Linked DNA regions of Homo sapiens: region 2 is linked to region 1. Evidence: promoter capture Hi-C in human tissues and cell types (Jung and others, 2019). All regions are on one chromosome and are shown on one strand. Each heading gives the region's core, a stretch centred on a gene start or on the middle of the fragment in contact. The rest is flanking DNA. Distances are from core to core; before and after follow the strand shown. Region 1 holds the start of DIAPH3 (diaphanous related formin 3). Region 2 overlaps DIAPH3 (diaphanous related formin 3).

Evidence for each region. The method cuts DNA at HindIII sites, captures the fragments that hold promoters and counts their contacts. A contact is called where the count stands out against the background at its distance.
Region 2: a contact is called between a fragment that was not itself captured here and the fragment with the promoter of DIAPH3 in region 1, in 2 of the 25 tissues and cell types used here (IMR-90 fibroblasts and adrenal gland).

What each region holds. Positions count from the first base shown.
Region 1 is chr13:60,159,963-60,166,203 of GRCh38, reverse strand. It overlaps DIAPH3 (diaphanous related formin 3), which reads left to right and starts at 2,276. Exons shown (of 28, transcript NM_001042517.2): 1 at 2,276-2,617. The coding sequence starts at 2,438. LOC105370227 (a long non-coding RNA gene) reads right to left here and starts at 2,147. Exons shown (of 2, transcript XR_942001.2): 1 at 2,005-2,147. RefSeq lists enhancers at 455-749, 1,838-1,887. The HindIII fragment of the contact is 10,910 bases long and covers 1-6,241 here.
Region 2 is chr13:60,097,558-60,103,798 of GRCh38, reverse strand. All of the region lies in intron 3 of DIAPH3 (diaphanous related formin 3), which reads left to right. Among named protein-coding and RNA genes, the nearest start is that of DIAPH3-AS2, 44 kb to the left of the region's middle. The HindIII fragment of the contact is 3,265 bases long and covers 2,250-5,514 here.

The sequences.
Region 1 (6,241 bases), core at 1,027-3,526:
GACAGGGTCACTCTGTGACCATGATGAAGTGAGACAAAACAAGATCACTTCCATGTTTTGTCTAAGCACAGACAATAACAAGGTCAGTATGCAAATCAGAAAATATCAATGTTAAATAAATTCATGGGAAATGATTATAGACTAACCTTAGTTTTGGACTAATCTGCTGCACTAGGCTCCGGCAGACCAGACCAAAGCAGAATGGTCCCTCATGCGTATTGCCACATAATCAAAAGCAACTCTGAAACCAGCCAGTTTTCCAAAAAGCAGGAAATTCATAGCACCCAATCAGAAGGGGCCAAGTTTATCTGAGCTGGTATGCTAAGAAAGTTCCCCTGTTTTAACCCTATAAGGAAAGTAACTTTGAAACAACTCATCTGCTTCTCATTCCTTATTTCTGTTCTCTAGCTTTTTTCTGCCTATAAAGCCAACCTCCTCTGCTTAGCTCATTGGAACAGATTCTATTTTAGAGAATGAAGTTTTGCCTATTCTGGAATTGCAAATAAAAGCCAATTAGATCTTTAATTTGTTTTGTCTTTCAAAATCAAACATTCCCCTCTCTCCATGATATGGATGACTAATGCTTGTCAGTTACAGCTTTAGGCTTGTCTTTTAGCCTGCCATCCTCCTAGATAAGATAATCACTGAACTGTCTCCACTTCCTGAAGGCACTTAATCTTGAGCAACCCTTCCCACCTCTTTCCACGGAGTCTTTCCCAAATCACCTAATCAAAGCCCAAATCCTTTAAGTGCTTTCTAATACCATTTACCTAAGACACTTCATGGCTCCCCATAGTGCATGTTCTCCCTCCCTGAGTAATAATCCCAACTTCTTCAACTACAGTATTCCTGTAGGAGCATTGACAAAACTCTAAGGGCTTTACATATGCTATGTTATTTAGGCCTGAAAATGCCCCTCTTTCATAGGTATTAGTATAATTACCCCCCTTTTGTAGATGAAGCAGCAAAGAAAGTTAAACGTCATCTCCGGTATCAAATAGCTAGTAAATGGCAGGAATAAAATCTGTATCTGGGTCTGTCATCAAGATATAAGGAACTACTTGTAGTTCTCCTGACCTTGCTGTTCTCCTGTAAGTTTCCCTAAAGATTATGTGCTCTTTGAGGACAGAGCTGTAGAGTCTGGCACAGTAAAACAAATATTAAAAAAGAAAAGCTGTAGTGTGAAGACTTACTGAGAACTAAGGCTCATTTTTTGAACCTCTGTGCCAAACTCCTCAGAGTACCTAGAGTTGTTTCTTGTACCAAAATCAATACTGCATGTTTCCGAGTCTTGGCCTACACCACCTCCATATAATCAGAAGACAGATATCTTAAAGGAATAGTTCCAAGGAAAAGCTCATTTTTAAAGAGGGTATATTGATGTGTTGAGAAAACGGTGTTTGCCTTGTAGCTTGACCTTGGGTTTACACAACAAACTCTTTTGCATGGTTTCAGTTCAAGGCCCTTTGTTATGTGACCTTAAAGTTTCTTCACCTCTATGCTTTCTTGGCCTTGCTCCTGCCTGGAATGGAATGCCTTTTAAATGAATGCCCTGCCACTGTTTCCTGCCTAGTGAAAACCTATGCAGCTTTCCTTTTACCTTTCCAGATCCACTCCTTCAGATTTAATAACTTCCCTTTTTGTTCTCAAGGAACTTCTAAAACAACTGCTATAGACATTTACATTCCTTGGTTAATTGTGTTAGGGTTTGGAAACTACAGGAGACTGTGAGCTCCTGAAGGGCTCAGCCTAGCCTAGCTCTGTCTGATTTTGGGTGGACCCCTCTGCCACCCCAGAGCGAGCACTTAGGCAGGAAATATGTCCAGAAGGCTTCCTTTTGGAGCGTCGTGGGCCCCGTCGTTTCATCCTGCCTAGTACCCCTTCCAGCACCGTACCCAGTCCCAGAACTACTTTTTCCAGCCCCAGACGTGCAAGGAGAGGGCTAGCAGATGGTTTTATATCCCAGCGCTGCTCAAATGGTGGCGCAGGGCCTGTCTCGCCCACCTTCCAGTTCTGCTGGAACCCTATCTGCAAATCCAAAGAAATCCAGGCCGATGACTTCCTCCACGGTCCCCGGCGCTTCTCCAAATCTGACGCCACTCTGCGTCCTTAAGGTGAGCGGCCTGGACCGCCGGAAGGGTTGAGCGGCTGCATAGACAGGCCGCAAGGCCAATCATGTTTCGCAGTGCCCGGAAGGGGCGGTGCCTCAGCGTGTCATTGATCCGGCGGCGCGGGATTGGCCAGTCCCGGGCCAACACGGGTGGCGGGAGTTTTCAGATGTGTTGGCTGCGGCCCCGACTTCAGCGGTTGGGCTAGGCTGTGCTGACTGTTTGGGTGGCGGACCCCGGGAGTAAAACCTGTTGTCGATCCCTCAGCTTCCAGCTTGCGGCTTGCTGAGTGGCCACCTTCTTTCCGGTCCCCGGAGCTGCGGGGAAAGATGGAACGGCACCAGCCGCGGCTGCACCACCCGGCCCAAGGCTCAGCCGCTGGGACTCCCTACCCTTCCTCAGCCTCTCTCCGCGGCTGCCGGGAAAGCAAGATGCCGCGCAGGAAGGGCCCCCAACACCCTCCGCCGCCCAGTGGCCCCGAGGAGCCTGGGGAGAAGCGCCCCAAGTTTGTGAGTATCGCCTGGAGCTAGGGTGGGGCCGCTCCCGCCCCGCCGTAGGGCTGACTGCCGAGGGTGGGCCCACAAGAACTTGGGGACCAAGTTTTATTCTAGAGATCCAGAGGTGCCAAAGATCATAGATTGACAACGACCGGGTCTAGTTGTAGTTGGATCCTGTGACAAATGCCCAGATCTTTGTGTTGCCCCCAAATTTCTTAACGCTGATGTGAAAAGCAGTTCAAACGTGTATATGTATTGACGTCATCTAGGTGGACATTGCATTTTTTAAGTCGAAGTTCTCCCTTCCTCCCTAGTGTAAGAGGGTATAAGATATATCAAAATGAACTTTTAGGTGACAGGTTTTTTTTCTGCTTATTATTTTAATAAGAACTTTTAATTACATATAAGAACTTTTAAGGTAGATATAATTTTCCAAGTTGAAACAGCTAGTTTTAGAACTTGGCGGGTGGTGTGGTCACTGCTAAAGAATGTTTTGCTTAGCTTGGAAAGAATTCTAAATATTTGAAACTTGCTATTCTGGTTTGCTTGTGTTTAACACTTAAGGAAAGTGTCATGATTAACACCTTGTCTTTTCGTTGGTGTCAACTAGTGAAAGTATAGGCAGTGATGATTATTTTGGGGTTTGTGTGTGTAAATAAATCACATAGAGGGTTGATAGATTTGGGATGAGTCCAACAGAATTGAAATTTCACATTGACCACTCCACCATTTTCCTTAGGAATATGGAAAAACTGTGTGTGTGTGTGTGTGTGTGTGTGTGTGTGTGTGAGAGAGAGAGAGAGAGAGAGAGAGAGTACAGCATTTGCCTTATGTGGGCAAGTAAAAATTGTGAGAAATTTAAGTCATGATTCACAAATTAAGGGAATAATGGTTTGTGAACCAGTTGCTAACTATAACATTTAGTTAAAAATAATAGTTGAATAAGACTGAGAGCCCATATTCTGATACATGAGATATATCAGAATACTGAAAATGAGAAACAGCATAGATTAATTGAAAATGAGGAACAGCATAGATTAATTATGCCAAATTAAGTATCAAAATGGTCATAGGAATAGTGACATTTTGCAGAAGGATCAAGTATGGACTTGATCATTATCTTGACAAATCTGAAGAATGAATAGGACAGAGTTAACTTCCCAATGAAAGATTTTTGCCTAATGTGAGAAGAATCCACTAAGGCAATGACTTTTCTTCCTTTTATAGTCTACTCTCTGGGTTAATAATCTTATTTTATTTTGTTTTAACTTCTGTGGTCCAGAATACAGGAGGTGTTATTTTCTGTGACTCATTCCCAGCAAGGAGGTCATGAAAACAGGATCTAAATTAGTATTTATGTTAAGTTTCATTGAAGGATTTCATCATTTGGTTTCCAGTCTCTGTGCTGTTTTTCATTCTTATGTATGTCACATTGACCATCTCAGCATGCCATTTGTTAAATGGATTCTCATAAAGATGAAATGACATCTAAAAGATAACACTCTTAAGCTGTAAAGGTAAAAAACACATCTAAAACACTGTGTTTTTGGGTGGGAGTCTGGTATGAATCATGACTTCCAGTTAATTTAGAAGTAATTTGGACTCTTGGTACTTTGAAACTAATTTAGGTTCTTGCTTATATGGTAATTTCTTTAGTTATATCTTCCAGTTCATTAATTTTGTTATCAGCTATGTCTAATCTGCTACTTTTCTGAATATTTGATTTTAGCAATTATTTTTTATTTTAATAAGTTCCATTTGCTTATTTTTCAAATCTGTCTGGGCATTCTTGATAGTCCTTTGTTTCTTATTCATTTATTTCTTTAGACATTTCCTACTTGATTGTTCTTATTCTTTATTTGACAGTTCTGCTGTTTGCAACCTGGGCTGTCTACATTGACTCAGATTCATGATGGCTTGCTCTCTTTCTTGTGTGTATTTATCTTTGTAAGCTCATTGCTTTATCTTCACCTGTAGGATTCCAGAGATGCTTTTCTTTGGAGATAGTTTGAGTTTGTCTGCCAAGGAGCCTGGGCATGCTACTGATTTTGGACCACCTTCCTGTTGAACTGGAAATCTTAACATGGGCAGAAGTTCCAGGCACAGCTCTACTCTGTTCCTGTACTAAAGTTCAGTATCCCAGTCTCAAGACTGCTTCCTGAGCAGCTCTTCCCAGTTTGCCTACCTTTCACTGCTCTTGATTGCACACCAGTAACTCTTGTTTTTTGGATGGAGAGGGATCTTTGAGACCATCAAAGTTCCCAGCAATGCCTCAGAAAGTAATTGTACTTGTAGGTGTCAAGTCAGTCACTGTTCTTGCAGATGTCAAGTTAGTTCTTGGCTTTTTCTTGATTGGATGAAGTGACGTTATCCTAAATCTTTTCAGGTCACCCAGTCATTATCTGAGCCTGGGGCAGCTGTTTTTGATGGGAACAAGTAATATAGGTTGGTGATGTGATGGATAGGAGTAATTTAGGTGGCCAGTGTTTTGCACACTTCTGCAAAGCAGCAAGCGAGTAGTAGAATGGAGTGGTAGACTGGTCACTCCCTCCTATCTTAGTGTAAGAAAGCAGGAGCTCTGGTACCCGCTGAAATCTTGTTTTACTTTGAGTCCTGTTAAAGTTGGCAAATTCTTGTTTTCTACCAAATGTATAGTTGCGGGCTTCAAGTCACTTGTGAGTTGGGTAAAAGAGTTTGTAGCTTAGATATCTCTTCCCATAGATAAGTATAAATAGTAGAAATTAGTCTATTGTAATTGTATGATACTTTGGCTGTGCTACGAATCAATTGACTTTGGGATGCTTGTGAATTAACCAACTTGGTCTCATTTGAAAATATCTTAAGCCGTGAGCATTGAGATGGTAGGGATAGCTACTGGGGCATAGAAGAGAGATGGAGGAGGCTGAGAGGACAGGGCAAGTATCTGGGTGGAGACTTTGTGAAGGCAGATAAAATTCCGTAGGAATTAAACTTGGAACCTGCCCTAGGCCACACTCAATACCTGGACCTGAGTCCTATATCCTTTGTAGAACAGAACAGTTGTCCTACAGATTGTGGAAAGCCTTTCAGTAATACCTGTTTCTCATTACTCTTGGCAACACACAGGTAGTGGTGGCAGAGCAGGACATGTGGCTTCTAGAAGTGTCCATCTCTAGGATGTAGGTCAGTCCATTCAAAGGGAGCCTGTAAATTGGTGGTCCAAGTTGATGAAGGAGTTCTTTTTAATTAGGAGAGTCCTCTAAAAGTTCTCACAGACTTCAGTGTAAATCGTCTAATCGTTTCCATCAAATAGATTGTTAATTATTGATTGATTATGTCATTGTAGTACCTTCAGTGTTGGTTTTGAGATTTTTCTTTTCTTTTTTTTCTTTTTTTGAGACGGAGTCTTGCTCTGTCGCCCAGGCTGGAGTGCAGAGGCGTGATCTCGGCTCACTGCAAGCTCCGCCTCTCGGGTTCATGCCATTCTCCTGCCTCAGCCTCCCGAGTAGTTGGGACTACAGGTGCCCACCGCAACGCCCGGCTAATTTTTTGTATTTTTAGTGGAGACGGGGTTAACCGTGTTAACCAGGATGGTCTCGAACTCCTGACCTCGTGATCCGCCCACCTCGGCCTCCCAAAGTGCTGGGATTACAGGCG
Region 2 (6,241 bases), core at 2,633-5,132, 64 kb after region 1:
AGAGAGGGAATTAGGGGATCTTTGTGGACCTCTTAAGATGCTTAACCAATTTGTGGCTTTAATAATATAATGCTGGCAAAACAGAGACTGCTACCAAGAATAATTATGTTGGCTTTAACCCCTAAAACAAAACATAATGTTATTGAAATTAGATGATTGCTGTTGACTTAATAGGAATAAATGTTTGGTTTTGCTATTGCAGTGCTTCTAATTTTTATTTTCCAATATTATGCTTATTGGTCCATTATAATACTGTATTTCCCATATCCATTTTGTAATGCTAGTCATGCTCTGCCTGTCTGTAGTGTTTTTCCTTTTTGGTTGAATATCCTTCCACCTGACCATCTTCAGCAACTTGCTGCTTGTATATATTCACTTAATTCTGCAAATAGTCAATCATTTTAAATTTAATCTGACTCTCTGTGGTGTTAACTGTCCCGCTCAACTTGATGTATGTAAATTTAATGAGCATGCTGTCTTGCAAAATCCACAGCCATGAATGAAAATATTGAGTCTAACGTGTGTAATTCAGTTGGAAAAATGTCCACTCTCTCATTGCTGTTCTCTGCTTGATTGTGCCTTAGTGCTCCAACGAGTTGCATGTGTGTGCACAGGTACTAAGTTACATATTTCCCCCCCACCTCGGTTTTGCTAATAAAATGTGAAAAATATTTATTTGGTACTATTTTTAAAAAATCAGTCTAGTAGGGAGTTAGGGTCCCTAAAAACAGTAGCAAACTGGCAATTTGCTGGTGTGTGGGAACTTCTGGCCCCATGCAACTTGTAGGAAGACTCTTTGGGAATATCTTAAAAGTTGCTTGATTGACCTGGTTTCCAGGTAAGGGCTGCCGCTGACTAATTTGGTGTCCTTGTGCAAGTTACAGAATAGGTGTATGCTTTCATTCTGGATGGACACAGCACCACACAAGGTCACAAGTTTGGAAGTTTGGAATAGATGATGAAGTGAGTCTGGAAGGGACCTTGACCCCATTCATTCCTCAACCAGGTACTACTTGGCAGGGGTCAGTCGTTATATTGACTCTGTTCTAGGTCACTGAGGTTTAGTGTGGGTCTGCTAGTGTTCTCTGAAAAAGTGATGGATTTTAGCTTGGCCATCTTTGTGTCAGTGCCACGACCTGAAGATTTCTACCTCCAGAGTTGGAACTTATTCCCGTAACTGTTATCTGAAGATTCTTGAGAATCTTCTTAGGAGCAGCAATTGCTCAGTGTTCTAGTCTGGGGCTGTATCATCTCCAGCTTCAGTTCCATCTCCCAGAAGCTTACCTGCATCTCATGTTTGTCCTAAAATAGGATGAGCAAATTCTATTTGAGAACTTTTCTGACATCTTCTTTATTTAGCAAATATTTAAAAAGTGACCATTATGTTCCATGCACGGTGAAAGAGGCAGCAAGTATAGAAATATTTCTATTAAATGTTATCGGTGAGGGAGAAAAGAGTTACATATAAAGAGCCAGAGTTGAGGGAAGTTTTTTTGTTTAATTTTAATCCATTAAAGATTAACTTGCTTACATATTGATACTCAACCAACTGAGAGAATTTAGTGAAATAAAATAGAAGAGGATAATCGATGTGTAATGCCCTTTCTTGAGGTGGGAGGAAAAGGGATCTCGAGCATAAATGAATAGGAATGTCTTTGGATAAATGCATTGGTTGGGTAGGGAAAGATAGTAGTGTGCAAATAAAATGGTAAAACAGCAGAAAATGGAATTATAGCTTTCTTTTCATATAGGGAATTGAAATTTATTTACTGAGGGTGATAGGCAGAAGTAGTAGTTTCACAGTTCCTGAAAATAGCTAAGGTTTGAAATAAGTACCATATGAAATGTGAAAAGAGAGAGACTAGTAAGATTTGCCATAAATGTTGTAAGAATTGATGAATCAACAGTGGCCTGCATTGGAAGAAAATGGAAGGGTCAAGAAACTGGAGGTTTTTACTGGGGCCAAGAAAAAGATGGTTTGGGAGTGGGAGAAGTGGCAAGATGGAAGATTGAGGTCAGAGATAAGGATTATGGAGATTCTGATGATGCCTGTGGTGGACAGGTTTTAGATAATGAAAAGGTCCAGGTGTGGTCATTAGGACTGTAGCTGAGGACAGTGGAAGTGAAGCTTGCATTGGCAAGGAAGCCAAGGACACTCTAGGGCAGGGGTGCCCAATCTTTTGGCTTCCCTGGGCCACATTGGAAGAAGACTTGTCTTGGACCGCAACTAAAATACACTAACACTTTTGATAGCTGATGAGCTAAAAAAAAAAAAAAGAAATCGCAAAAATATCTCATGGTGGTTTAAGAAAGTGGTTTGAATTTATGTTGGGCCACATTCAGAACCGTCCTGGGTGCAATCTGGACAAGCTTGCTTTAGGGCCATTGTGGGTGATAGCAAGGTGTGGAGTGTCAGAGGAATCAACCCAAGTTGATGGCAGTGGAAGTGTTCAGTCAGATGTTACTAGCCCCAAGGAAATCGGACTTTAGATGATAACATAGATAAATAATATGGAAATAAGAATGAGGGAGATGAGATAGAACAGAGTTTAAATCTAAGTTAAAGAACCATGGTCAACTTACAGAATTTTCCTAAACCTCAGCTCTCTCCTCAATAAAGAGGACATACCTCAAGTTACTGAGGATTAATTAAGTAATGCTTATGAATGTTTAGCACAGTGCCTGGCTCAAGAATTTGACCATAGTTTAAGATTACAGGAGTACTAGAGGTCTTTGTAAAATGGTTCTGGGAGAATGGGTGAGAAGGTCAGTGCATAGAGCAGGTTTGGAATGAAAATAGGAGGAAATGTAAACAGTTGGAGAAGTTTGTGTTTTGAATGGAATTCTGTTACCTGTGTCTGACCTACTTAACCCTTCCTCTCAGGACCCTTGGATTTGTCTTGATTGTGGTTTCCTTAGTCTCCTTTCCTCCCTCAATTCAGTGTGTATTTACTATAGCCGAATATTCTACAAACCTCTTCTTTTTATTTAGGGGATATAAAAAAACTTCTTTTTTTTTTTAATAATGATGTTCTGTTTTTCTTTTTTTACCCCAAGTTATTTATAAAAAGTTCTATTAAAATATTTCAATTTAGTCTTTTAAAATAACTCTTTATTTTGAAATAATTTTAGACTTATAGAAGAATTGCAAAAATAGTATAGAGAATTCTTGTATACCTTTCACCAAACTACCTCTAATGTTTACATCTTATATAACATTAGTACAATTATTAAAACTAAGAATTGAATACTGAGACGATATTGCTAACTAAACTACAGACTTGCTTCAGATTTTGCCAGCTTTCCCACCCATGTCTTTTTTTTCTTCCAGGATCTAATCCAGGATCACATCTTGCATTTATTTGTCATGTCTCTTCCAGTCAATGACAGTTCCTTATCTTTTATGAGCTTGATACTTTTGAAAAGTTATGGTTAGTTATTTTGTAGGGTGCTCTCAATTTGGGTTTGCCTGACTTTTTTTTTCCTTGTGATTAGATTGAGATCTATTTTGGGATAAATACCACAGAGGTGATCAGCCTTCTCATTATATCATAGCTGGAGGTTTGAAATATCAATATGTCCTATTATTTGTGGTGTTAGCCTGGACAACTTTGTTAAGGTGGCATCTGCCAGCTTCTTCCCTTGTAAAGTTAGTATTTCCCCTCTATAATTAAGGAGAAAAAGGATATCTGCACAGTCTTAAAGTATCTCCTCAATTTATTTTGCTTTTTAGGTTATAATCTAATACTATCATTTTATTTTTCAAATTGTTCTAGTTTTGGCCACTTAACAGCTCTTTCAGTTTGGCTCATGTCCTTTTGACTTTCCTTCCTTCCTTCCTTCCTTCCTTCCTTCCTTCCTTCCTTCCTTCCTTCCTTCCTTCCTTCCTTCTCTTACTTTCTGGTACCACATTAATTTGGTCTTTTTAATTCTAGTCTTTTTGGATGACATAGCTGTGTTCCCACGTATTGAATGAAAAAAAAAGCTTTCCAAGTATTGTACTTCTGAAATCTGTTCCTAGTGCTAGTCAGATCAGCACAGTGATTCTGTTTAGATATAGATTTTAATTAGAAAGTAATTGGCCAAAGGGAAACTATTTTTTTTGCTGTTGCAACTCGGTTTCCCCTGGCAAGCCGAGAGTGGTCCCCAACATATAGTGGTTCGATTTAACGATTTTTCGACTTTACAGTGGTGAAAGCAACATGCATTCGGTAGAGACTGTACTTTGAATTTTGATCTTTTTCCTGGGCTAGCTATATGCAGTTTGACACTCTCTTGTGACGTGGGGCAGCAACTGAGAGCTGCAGCTCCCCTGTCAGCCATGCAATCATTAGGCTGAACAACTGACTGTACTGTGTCCCCAGCATTTTTTGGATATTGTGCTTTGTGTTTTCGCATCCCACCATGTCTACAAAATGTGCATCTGTGTATTCAAAATGTTATTATAAAATAGCATTTGTGTTAGATTATTTTGTCCAACTGTAGGCCAATGTAAGTGTTCTGAGGATGTTTAAGGGAGGCTAGGCTGAGCTGTGACATGCAGTAGGTTAGGTGTATTAAATGCATTTCTGCATTTCAATTTTTAATGGCTTTTTTGGGACATAACCCCATTGTAAGTTGAGCATCTGTATATTAAGGAGTACTATGAATGAGATAATTCATAATGTATATTACTAACATATTAATAGAACTTTTTAATAGAACTTTAACATCAAAAACAATAATATGCTCTTCAGAGAGATTAAAATTTTGAATAGGTGACTTGGCAAATGATGTTTTTGAGTGTGATATATTCAGCCCAATAGCCAGTTGATAAGATTTTTCCATTTAAAGGGTAGAGATTTATTTCATATATCCATGGAAATTTTAACCTCATTCAGATTACTCACTGAGCCTTATGTATTTATGTTTACTTTGTATTTCCTGTTCAGTATTTTACCTATAATAGATATTTAATGAGATACGTACATATATCAGCATACTGATATATTGAGGTAAACAGCCATTTTAGAGCCGTTTTACAATCTGTGTCTGCAGTGTCATTTTGTACCTATGTAGTGTGGTAGCACAGTAAAGCAGCATGTTTTACTGACCTGTGTTTGAATGGAAGGAGGAGTTAATACACAATAGTTTATATTGCCTTTTTTTTTAAGGTCAGCTATATGTGTTTCTATATTTATTCTGTTCAATTTATTCTGTTCAATTTGTTTCTATATTTATTCTTTCAATTTGAAAGAAGTCTTATTTTAATATCAAGTAAATTATTTTCAGATGGTATAGTAGGTACTTTTAGTACCCCCTCCCAGCTCCTTTTTACCAGGCTGGTGCACCCATGCCCCAGGTGATGAGTGTTGGCTTCTAATAGCTTATAGATGCCCCTTTCTCCAGAGATTTGCCCTCATCAGAACTAGGATTCTGCAGCTGATGACTAACTTGAGGTTGTTGAGGCTGGTTTCTGCTACCAGGCTATCCTGACTGTGGTGCATCTCAGGGTGAAGTGAGAATCCACCAGAGGCCACCTTTAGTATGTCTTTTTTCCTCTTTTGTCTTACCTCCTTTACTTTCTTATCCTGAGAGCAGCCCCACCTGCACCTGAATCCCTGTTTCAGGCTCTGCTTTTAAGGGAAACTGACCTTAGATAATGGAGATACAACATGATAATTTTGAGGAAATATAAACTAAGAAACATAAAAAATGATAACTTGCTCACTTCTCCCCCACTGACCTTCACCAAGTCCAGTTTCTTAGATAGCCTTGGGAGATGCTTCACCCTTCTGGAATTGCAACATAAAATATGGATATGCATTTTTTAGGAAAAAAAGCTCCCAATAAATTTTCTAAGGACTTCGTGACCCCCAGAAGTTAAGTGCCACTGCCTCATGGAGTTTTCTTCTTTCAGCCTTGTTTTCCATAAATAGAAATTCAAAATATATTCTAATAATACCATACCCCTCATGCTTTCATGCATATTTTCTCTCTACTGCCCCCTTATTTCTCTCTCTCTCTCTCTTTTTTTTTTTCTTTTTTAAAGGGCAGAGCTTTTCTTACGCTTTCAAATGCCATTTCCTCCTGGAAATATGGAGGATGACCTGTTAGATGAAGTTACATGCCTAGTGGGTATCCCACAAAAGTTTAGGGTGTTATGTAGTTGATTCCAAACTTTTGTATTGTTGTCTTAGTCCATTTTTATGTTGCCATAAAGGAATACCTGAGGCTGAATAATTTAAAAAAGAGGTTTATT